Regions from separate parts of the Homo sapiens genome. Here all the other regions are linked to region 1. The links are contacts of gene promoters, found by promoter capture Hi-C in blood cells and fetal thymus (Javierre and others, 2016). All regions are on one chromosome and are shown on one strand. Each heading gives the region's core, a stretch centred on a gene start or on the middle of the fragment in contact. The rest is flanking DNA. Distances are from core to core; before and after follow the strand shown.

The links. The method cuts DNA at HindIII sites, captures the fragments that hold promoters and counts their contacts. A CHiCAGO score of 5 or more calls a contact.
Region 2: a fragment that was not itself captured here is called in contact with the fragment with the promoter of CACNG2 in region 1 in 1 of 17 cell types (endothelial precursors); the score reaches 5.2 in endothelial precursors.
Region 3: a contact is called between a fragment that was not itself captured here and the fragment with the promoter of CACNG2 in region 1, in 2 of 17 cell types (M1 macrophages and endothelial precursors). The highest score is 6.9, in M1 macrophages.

The regions. Positions count from the first base shown.
Region 1 is chr22:36,701,800-36,705,417 of GRCh38, forward strand. CACNG2 (calcium voltage-gated channel auxiliary subunit gamma 2) reads right to left here and starts at 1,953. Exons shown (of 4, transcript NM_006078.5): 1 at 567-1,953. The coding sequence starts at 777. CACNG2-DT (CACNG2 divergent transcript) reads left to right here and starts at 2,077. Exons shown (of 4, transcript NR_134623.1): 1 at 2,077-2,193. The HindIII fragment of the contact is 12,752 bases long and covers 1-3,527 here.
Region 2 is chr22:36,587,076-36,590,693 of GRCh38, forward strand. CACNG2 (calcium voltage-gated channel auxiliary subunit gamma 2) reads right to left here. Exons shown (of 4, transcript NM_006078.5): 2 at 390-473. Among named protein-coding and RNA genes, the nearest start is that of EIF3D, 60 kb to the left of the region's middle. The HindIII fragment of the contact is 1,849 bases long and covers 720-2,568 here.
Region 3 is chr22:36,613,063-36,616,680 of GRCh38, forward strand. All of the region lies in intron 1 of CACNG2 (calcium voltage-gated channel auxiliary subunit gamma 2), which reads right to left. Among named protein-coding and RNA genes, the nearest start is that of EIF3D, 86 kb to the left of the region's middle. The HindIII fragment of the contact is 159 bases long and covers 1,676-1,834 here.

The DNA.
Region 1 (3,618 bases), core at 703-3,202:
TCTTGAACTCAGCTTGAGATCCTGGAATAATTAGGATTTACCAAATAAGGATTCTTAGAAACAACATATTCTTTTTTAAATAAGGAGATTTGCAGATGGTGGTGTGTCTAGGACTTTTGGGGAGTAAGGAGAAGAGGAGGGAAAAGGGAAGAGCATTTTTGAATTCTTCATTGCGAAAAGAGAAACAGCATACACAGAAGCAATTATTTTACCCTCTCATAGATGGCAATGCTAAATCGGATGGTAAATCCTAATGACTCCAAAGCAGGCAGAACACCTTTGACTTTTAGAGACAATCTCTTGTCGTTTTCACCATGTCATAGATTATTCCAATGAGGATGTTTGAGGGGATGAGGGGGTGGCGGAGGCGAGGGAGTAGAGTATGGGTTTTGCTTATTGATTTTCTTTCCTCTGAAACTAACCCAACCAACCTTGATTGGTGGTGGAAGGAGTGAACTAAGAAAATGGTGGAATGTAAAGGGGACTTATTTGGAGGAGGGTGGGGAGGGGGGAGTGAAAGGGGAGGGGTGGGGTGGAGAGGGGGGAGGAGATGGGAAGTCAAGTACCTTCTAGGCAGCAGGTTCTCCATAATCCGGAATGGGTCATAACTTCCTCGTTCTTTTTGCTGGTTTCATTCTCACTGACACTTTTGGTCTTGCAAACCCCTCTGGAGTAGAGCCAATAGTCGGTTCCCACAGCTATGGTCATCAGGCTGAAGGCAGCGAAAGCACCAACGGTGGTTAAAAGCATTTGAACACCTCGATCAAACAGCCCCATAATTCTTCATTATATAAACACCCAACCGACTTCTGGTTCTCGGGAGAGTGTGTGTGAGGGTGCAAGTACTAAAGCCAAAAAAAATAAATAAAAATAAAAATTATTCCACTACTAATATAATGGATATATGTATGAATAGAGAATATGGAGAGTTATAAAAAAAGGGAGGTAAGAAAGCTCACGGAAAAGAGTGTAAATTATAAAGATCACACGGGAAGAGGCTTGCCTTTTGAGATCAGAAACTGTTCCAGTTGCAGTGTTTTTTTTTTAAAAAGAAAAGGAAAAAAAAAATAAAAAGACACCCCCCACCCCCCCAAGTGAGATGCCTTAATCTCTTTTTCTAAAATTCTGGTCTCCAGTTTCCATATGTGATAGTTAATTTGGAGATGGCTTCCACAGTGAACCAGGGAACAGCCGAATTCTCAACACCATTTCTCATGGTCGGGACCTAGACAGTTAGAGACTGTGAGAGCCGAGATGCAACCTTCGGTCTTCGTTCTCGGCTCTGCGGCCTGCGCCATGAAAATCCTTTGCTTCGCCAGTTCTCTTCCTTGGGGGGTCTCGGCGCTTTCGTTTCAGACCAGACTTCCCAGTATTCTGTAAGCCCTTGAGCTCAGCTGCACAGGTGCGGGGGTCTCGCTTTCCATGGTTTTGCCCGGGCAGCGGCGGCGGCGGCGGCGGCGGCGGCAGGGCGGGCAGGCGCGGCGGCGGCGGCGGCAGCAGGACGAGCAGCGGCGGCGGTTATTGTTGTTGGTGGCGGGGGTAGTGTTGGCGAAGTGGGGGAGAGAGGGGGTTTCTCCTGGAGAATCGAGGCGGATTTCCCTCCCCCTATCTGCAAAGCTCCTGGAAACGAGGGAGCCGGCGTCTTGCTGCAGGGTGGGCCGCGCGCCTGCCCCCCACTCGCTACCGGCTGGGCGCCCGCGGAGGCGCTCCCACCTACTGCATTACGGGTGGTGCTGAACCGGACAGCTCCCTGCGCCGCCCGCTCCGCGCGCTCCCCGGCTGGCTCCCAGGGCCGCCCGCCAGGAGGGGGGCGCTGGCCAGAGTCCTCCCTCCCCGGGGCAGCAAGGCCAGCGCAGAGCGGGGGCCGCCTTTCCTCTTTTTACCCCTCTCCCAAATCCTAAAATGAGCGCTCTCCTGGGCTCCCGGAGCTTAGAGGAAGGCGTAGCTAGAGATAGCTCGCGCTCTCTCTCTCTCTCTCTCTCTCTCTCTCTCTCTCTCTCTTTCTCTCTCTCTCTCTCTCTCTCTCTCCCCCCTTCCCTCCCCCCTTGGTGTTTCTTCCAGCTCAGCCTCCTTCTCATTCCATCTCTACGTGCCCAGAGCTTCAAATACAACCCTCCCATCACAGTCAGACGGGCACAAAACTTCAACCAGCCGTTTCTCTGCCTGGAAGCGGCGAACATGTAACCTGGACGGGTAATTACAAACACGTCTTTATGTGTTTTTTAAATCATTGTTTTCACTTTGCTTTGCTGGGGATTTGTTTTATTTTGTTGGTCCGTTAGATGTATCTTCTTTCGGTTTTCCTCTCTCTTCTCTTTGTCTCTCTCTGGCTTACCAGGGGGTGTGCATTGCTCTGTGTCTCTCTGTAGTTTTCCGTGAAATTCCAAATCTTGCTTCTACAAGCAGACATTTTGGGAAGATTATTCGTGGAAAAGGGTGCAAAAGGGCGACTCGTAGCTGGGGCTTGGGCAATGATTTTCATTGCAAGGATAAACATGTTCTCAGGGGAAGTGGGTGAAATGTGAATCCTTCTAAGTATCCTATGTCATTCATAAACTGGTTGGGAAGAGATAAAAAATCTTCCTTCCATGAACACTGGAACACCGAAACCCTCCCCTCTTTCTCAGAAGAATCATTGTTTGTGGGTTAATTACAGTGTCACCTTTCATTTCTCTTATGTGCAACTTTTCCTTAACGTGACCTCTGGTAGAAAGAAGCACATTAATTCCTGCTGCTACGGATTACATTTTTTTCTCTGATCACTTTTATGGTTAAGTGAGTAAGAGCACATGAGGCATGAGATGGGTTCATGTTTTTGATATTTTGTGTGTGTGTGTGTTGCGGGGGGGACCCTGGAGAGGATGTGAGTATGATGAGTCTATTGAGGCAGGGGGAGTTGAGAGGTTTCAATCCCATAATTCAATTATTCAGTACTTTCTTCTCTCTCCCTCTACTTTTTTTCTTGAGATTATTTGCTTGACATCTTTCTCAGTGGTCTGGTGATTATCAGAGGTATATAAAAGATGAGTGAATTAAAAACAGTCTTTCTTTGGTGTAAAGTCCATTGCCTAACTTCCTTCGCTCAGGTCAGAGTTGGTCTGCAGGTATGACCAGTGTATTTTTTTTGACATAGAAAAACTACCTGTTTCTTCGCCCAGCACAAAACTTCCTTTCTCCCACTCTGTTCTTTTCTTAGAAGGGAAAGGCTCCCATGAGGGGCAATTGCTGTGCTTCTGGTATCTGGGAGAGGGTCCTGGTGTCTGGAGAACAGAACCAAGATTTCCTCAACCTCTGCTAAGGTACCTTTGGGGTACAGCAAGAGCTATATTTGCAGGCTGAAGACTTCTCCACTTTGGTTTCTTGTCCTGTGAAGATGGGGATGGGTACAGGAATGGAGAGGGCTAATCTGCTGATCCCATACAGCAGGGAACCTAGCAAGTTCAGCCAGTGGCTCAGGTGGCTGATTTTCTTCTGTCCTTGAAGCAAAGGTGAGGGGCAGGCAACAAGTCCTCCTCTGAGATAGGCTAAGCTTTTGGGGGGAGTGGAGAGAAGGTTGGGGGTAGTCACATGAGCCAAAGAGCCTTGCCCTCACTTATTGCTGTCACCTTGGTTGTCTTT
Region 2 (3,618 bases), core at 394-2,893, 120 kb before region 1:
AATGGTGAATGCTAGGGTGAGTCCATACCCTAGCAGAGTTGGGAGATGGTTACTCAAATAGCCAAGGACCCTACAGCATGATAAAGTACCGTCCTCTAGGAACTCATGCAGAAGGCAGGAAGGACTTCCTGGAGAAGGTGATGTTTTAGCTGAGACCTGGAGGTCGACTGAGTAGGAGTTTGCCAGACAAAGACGGGCAGGGAAGGGCATTGCAGGCAGAGGGAACAGCACATATGAAGGTCTGTACTCCGGAAAGGAGAGAGGCTTAGCTTTTTCCTGCCCTCTGCTGTGATGAGGGCCTCTAGGTAGGCCTGGTCCTTGACTCTGTGAAGGATGGAAGGGCAGGGCCCACCACCAGGAGGGAGATAAAAACAATCGTGTGCACTCACGGAGGAAATATTCTGCTGTGTCAGCTTCGTAATCTGCATCCTCTGGGAAGTGATCAATTTGCTTGCACAGACCTTTGAAATTCCCTGCAAAACAAGGGGAGAAGGAGCACATGAAACATCATAGTTTTGGGGGCGCTTAGGGCCCACCTGCCTCTTCCCAACTTCTGGCTCTTTGGAAACTCACTCAGCCCTCTCCCTCACCCCTGAAGGAAGGTTTCGCTTTGTCCGTTTGGACATCTGCCTGGTGAATCACAACACACACACCCGCAGTACTGCAGAGAGGATCTAAAGCCGACGACTTCAAAACGCTGCCTTCTGTCCCTGCACTGAAGCTTCTGAGGATTAGCGGAGGCTTGGCAGCAGTGGAGGTTTGATTCCGAGCTGGGGACTGCCACGCAGGAGGCCGATGAATGCTCCTCAGCCCGTCTCTGTGCCCCAGCATAGCTGGGAGTCATCCTGCATTTTACATGTGAGAAAGTAGCAGATCACTTTCTAAAGGGGACACACCCCGCACTGGTGCTGCCAGATGCTGCCACAGCCCTTTAGAAGAGCCTGCAAAACACTTTCCCATCTGCAATTCCGCACGGAATTCACCAAACCCAGCCGCCAACTGCTCTGAAATAAATATGGGGGTGGGGAGGAAGTTGAGCCCCCTGGGGGCTGGACTTTTGGGTTTTGAACTACAGCTCATTTTGGTTCCACCACAGGCCTGTGAGGGGGGTATTATCATCCTCATTGTATAGATGAGGAAACTGAGGCTCAGAAAGGCTGAACTATCTGAGCAAGTGCTTGTGGCTAGGAAATGACGGAATCAGGGCTGAAACTAGGATCTTTTGACTCTAAATGTTTCCTCGGTGCCTGCTGGGAAGGTGAGAACTGGCCTGGGGCAAATCCCAGCACAGTGTCACAGGCAGGTCCTCCCCAGTGTTCACTGATGAGCACGTGAACTCTTGAATGTGGCCTTTCTAAAAACCGATAAGTAGCACAGACTCTACAATCACCAGAGCATCGGCTTCCTGACAGCAGAGACTTTGTTTCATTCACTGTCTTATCTCCAGCACCAGCATAGGCACAGTGAATGTCCTTTAACCTTCTCTGAATGGAAGAAAGATTGGGTGTATGCTGGGGCGTATGCACAGTGGGTAAGATGCAGGTTGCACAGCCAGACTGCCTGGGTCCAGCTGTGCATCACTCAGTGTCCTCACCTGAGAGTGGCGATAACAAGAATTCTTCCCTGGCAGATTGTCGTGGAGGTTCACTGAGCTGATGCATGTTGAGTAGTCAGAACAGTGCCTGACACATTTAGGAAGTCCTTGGGGGCATTGACGTGAGACAGAAATGAAATTTGACTGTGTCCAGCCACCAACATAGTAGCTACTGTGACCTAATTAATACAGCCCTCAATACATGTTGGCAATGATTTTCTTCTACAGTCCTGAGACTATGTCTTATAAAATAGGGGCAGATTCTAGTATGTGTCATAGATATTAATTAGGAATTTTACGGTATTATTACATATACCTTTTTTTTTTTTTTTTCCCCCTGAAATGGAGTCTCACTCTGTCACCCAGGCTTGAGTGCAGTGGTGTGATCTCGGCTCACGGCAACCTCCAACTCCCAAGTTCAAGTGATTCTCCTGCGTCAGCCTCCTGAGTAGCTGGGATTACAGGCACATACCAACATGCCCAGCTAATTTTTGTATTTTAGTAGAGATGGGGTTTCACCATGTTGGCCAGGCTGGTCCCCCACTCCTGACTTCAAGTGATCTGCCTGCCTTGGCCTCCCAAAGTGCTGGGATTACAGGCATAATCCACTGTGCCCAGCCTAGACATATATATATATATGTGTGTGTGTGTATAAAATAGACCTATATATTAGGTTGGTGCAAAAGCAACTGTGGTTTTTGCCATCAAAAGTAATAGTGAAACCGTAATTACTTTTGCATCAACCTAATAGTACACAGGTATATAGTATACAGGGATACTTACGTACTACGTAGGAATATAAGCATTTTAGGAACTTCTGGCTATGATTATATGCTGCATATAATGGAAAAGAGGAATCTCTGTAACTCCCTTTCACACATGAGCTATCCCTGTACCAAATTCACTAACTTTCTTGAGTTCTACAAGAAAAACAATTCCCCAGACCATATCGGGACTTCTGGTCGCTTCACTGAAGCTTGGTAGGGCCACTCAAAATGGTCCCATGGACAGGTGTCTTCTCTGAGTGTTTTGGGTTCCCTGCTTTTTGCTGTCCCCACCCCCATCGTGTCATGGCCCCTCTGCCCTCCTGCATCTTGGGGTGTTAAAAGGAAGCCTTGTCCCCTCCCTAGTACCTTGTTTTCCTAATCCAACCATGCACCCTTCTCTGTGGGAAAAGTCTTCATACCAGCTGCTAAGAGGATAACAAATTCTCCCTATTGTTAAAATTACAAATCAGTGTATTTGAAAAGCACTTCGCAAAGCACTCTCATTTTCTTTCAATTCAATCTGACAAATATTTCAGCAAGCCGGTGCCAGGCATCTTTATAAAGAATCTGTGCAGGAGTGAGGCTCAGAGAGCAGTACTGACATGCCCTGAGGCGTCCCACAAATTGAGGACAGAGCTTCACCCAGCAGGGCCCCAGCTGCATCCTGGTGGGCCACACCCGCTCCTGTTCCCCGCAGGAACAGGAGCTCACATTCTACGGGGAGCCTAGTTGCTCCTTGTGTGCAAGCCTGGGCTTCACTCATCCTTGGACCATTGGCTCCTAGCGCAGTGCCTGGCACAGAAGCAGGGTTCAGGAGATGCTAACAGAGAGGCCGTGCGAGATAATCAGTGGCCCAGACCTCTCCTTGAGGCCTGGACCTGGGTATCCAGCTGCCTATTTGACATCTCCTGGTGGATGTTTTAAAGGCACTGAACATGAACTCCTGATCTTTCCCTCTAGCCTGGCACTCTGGAGGCCCCAGTTAGCTTGGCGAATGCTTCTCCAGGGTTCCCTTGTGTAAGCCTGAGCCTAGTTGTCAGCGCTGACATCTATCTCTTCCTCCTCCCTGCAGGCTCCATCCATCAGGGCGTCCTGTCTGTATTAGATCCTTAGTGTCTCAAACTTGCCTGATGTCTCTGAGACAGCACCGCCCACTACCAGGCCACCATCCCTGCTCCCTGGATGGCTGCCGCGGCCTCCCCACTCATCAGTTTGCACCCACTCTTATCCTTCTCTACAGAGCTATGACAGTGATCC
Region 3 (3,618 bases), core at 505-3,004, 89 kb before region 1:
TTCTGTGCCTTTACTATGCTAACTGCATTGTCAAACTCTAATGTGGGAATATAGTGCTCAATGTTTCCAAAAGTTCATTTCATTACAGGCTCTCTGTGTGTGTGTGTGTGTGTGTGTGTGTGTGTGTGCATGTGTGTCTTTCATCTCACGGGGCTACAATCTTTGGATCACTCTTTGGGGAACACTGCAGTAAATGAATCTTGGATTTCACACCTGTACTTTCATGCACAGCAGGGAGTAATGAAAAAGCAAAATGCAAAGGTTTCTAATACCTTTCTCCCTCAAGTGCTAGTGTGGGAGGCATTTCTATACATGTCCCTACAGTCAGCATCTACACATGCCCCTACAGCTTTTGCTATGCACCGTTGACATGATTTGAGTAATCTGACCACCTGGCTTCTTTCTTGATGTGCCGTCTTCCCTTGGCGTCTGGGTCCTCAAGGTTGCTTGGTTTTCTTCCTGTTCATTTTCAGACTCCTTTGCAAGGTCCTCTTCCTCTGATTATCTTGTACATTTGGTGTTTCTGGGGCTCTCTCTTTGGCTGTCTTCTCTTTTCATTCTACATATGTTCCTCAGAAATCTCATCTCTGGCTTCCGTTTTCACTTACATACTGATGACCCACAAGTCTTTATATACAACCCAGTCCTGTCTTCTTTCCCTTGAGTTCTTGGTGCGCTGGCTGTCCCCCCGTGAATATCCCACAGATATCTGAACCTCAACCTGAACTTAGTGTCCATTTCCCCCATCCTCTTATGCTGGCTCAATAATAAATCATGCCTTCCTCCAGCCCATTTCCCAAGCTGCAAACCTTGGAGTCATCCTTGATTTCTACCTCTTCATCTCCACTCCCAGCAAATCGCCAATTCTTTAACATGTCTTGAATCTGGACCCCTACCAACCGTTCCCTGCACTCTCAGAACACCCTCCAACCCCCAAGTGGCTCCCCTGCTTCCCTCTTCCCTACCACTGATTACTTCCACTCTGTAGTCACTGTGATTTACAAAAGGTGAAATCGGAGCTGCCTCTCCTCAGTGCCTCCCCATTCCTACAGGATGACGTCCAAACTCTTTGACAAGGTCAACAGGGTCCACCACAATTCGACAGCTGCTTTGATCTTCAGAAACTACATCCTGTTGTAAGTCCCAGGACCCACCACGCTCTCTCCTATCTCTGGACGTTTGCCACGTGCTTCCTGGCTGTCCTTCCCAACTCACTTCTCTATCACTTCTCCTCTCTGCCCACCCCTGGATACTCCCTATTGATGCCTTAGTGCTCAGTTTACACATCATTTCCTTGAGGAAGGCTTCCTTGAAGACTGTCCCTTCCCCCACATCACCCCAAATCCTGAGCCGGCAGCTCCTTCTGGTTCCCATGGCACCCCGCACTCTTTGGTATGGCGACATTCCTGGACTACATTGAAAGGCCTGTGGCCTGCTTCCTTGCCTGTCTCCTCCACTGGTGTGAAAGCCCCTTGAAGAGCTGCTGCATTCATCATTGTATCCTGAGGCAGAGGCAGAGGCAGCCTGTCCACCCTCTCATGTTTCCGATGCACCCAAGCACCATCCAGCCCCGGGTCAGCACATCCACAGAGAGCAGGCAGGGTGGTGGGAGCAGCAAGTGGTGAGGCCTGTGATGCCATAATCAATTTTGCTGGGCTTAGCGTAGTTACTGAAAAGCTTGTGGAGGGAAGAGAACACACCTATTGACTCAAAGGAGGTTTGGGGATTTTCTGTGGTTTGCAACGATCCATTTGCTCGTTACTAGCTGAGATCTGGAATTGGCAGTACTGACATAATGGCTTATGTCCGTGGACTTACTGCACATGGAGAAAGAAGCTTCGGAGTCTGGGGGAAGAATGCATTTCGCCTTTCCAAGCTTCCCTTGTCCTTGCCTCATCTCTTGAGCGGTGCCAGATGACAAGGGCCTCTGTCACTGTGATGCAGTTTACTTCCTATCTCCCTCTCTAGCAGAGGTCTGCTCTTGGAGAACGGACTATGTGTATTTTGTTCACAATGTACCTCCACTGCCCATCCAGGGCTTTGGCTTGCACCAGGTGCCCAGTAAATGTCTGGAGAATAAATGAATTGAATGAAGGTATTCGCAGCCATATGTCCACTACAGCCTATAAGGCTGCATCTGATTTGGTTGGGAGGGCAAGTGTGTGTACAAGGTTTGTAGTGATTGGCAGGAATCTCACAGATAAGACTAGTGAACAAACTGCACAAACTACTGCCCAGTGGTTGGATTTCCTGTATCTCATGGGTACCACACCTGCAGGGCCCTTCTTGGTTTAGTCTGTGATGACTGCTACGCTCAACTGCCGCTTTCCACAATCTGACTGCTCAGCCACACTGGATTCCTGATTTCTCTTTCCATACAACAAGCAGACTTCCCCTCTGGGCCTCTTGCACCATGGCTCCCCTGTCTAGAATGCTCTTGTTTTGCATCCGCATGATGGGCTCCTCACTTATTCAGGACAAAAATGATATGACCATCATTCTCTGTTCCCCCAGCTGGGTTAATTTTCTTCTTATCACGTACCCTGCATTCATCTTACCACTATCACATTTTTATTTATTTTTATGTTTACTGTTAGTCCCATTAGAATGGACGATCCACGAGGGCGGGGCTTTGCTCTGCTCACTGTTGCAGCACCAGAGTATAGACCCATGACTGGCATGTAGCAGGTGCTCAGTAAATATTTGTGGAACAGTCTGATTTAGCTTTCTGCTTTCCAAAGAAATAATGTCACAATAGTGTTAGTTAAAAAAAATAGTGTTAGTTAAAAAAATTGTGTTAGTTAAAAAAAGAAAGAACTCACAGATGTACTGCATGTCAAGGTATGAAAGTGTGTCTATGTTCAAACATTCTCTTATTTATTCCTCACATAATATTATTCAACCACACACGTGGTAGATGGAGTGTTTATCTCTCCTATTTTTCAAATCCAGAGCTCAGAAAAGTAAAATCATTTGCCCCAAAGACCCTCAACTCAGAAACTTATGTCATCTGACTCCAGATCTCGTGTCCCTTGAGTGACAATGTCCTTGAATTACTTAACCTCTTGTTGCCCTGGTGTCCTCATCTGTGATATGGAGATAAGAAAAGAATAATCCTCCTAGTGTTGTGTGAAGGTCAAATGAGTTAATTTGGTGTGATGCTTAGAGAAGTGCCTGATACATACTAAGAACTCTGTAAATGTTACTTATTATTGTTGAGTTATTTTAATATTGAATTATTATTAAAATTCTCCCTTGTTAGAATTCTATCCTTGAATTTCTGATGCATTTTTCATGCAGCTGCATTTTAGATAAGACATATTAAATACCTGTCTTTCACTACTGGGATTTATCTTGGTAAGGCTGCACGCCATAGTCTAGCGCCTTACGATTCACCGGATTTTCCTGTCTCCAATTGTTCCCATTCACCTGTCTCCCCAGCGAGAGTGTAAGTTCCTGGAAACTAGAGAGTATTGCTGATAGAGGTCTGGACAAAGTGTGACTGTTTTCCTTTTTCATTGAGATCTGTAATCCATCTGGAATTGATTTTTTTTTTTCTGTATGGTATGAAGCAGGGGTTGAGATGCATTTCGTTCCCTATACAGACCTGGGTGACCC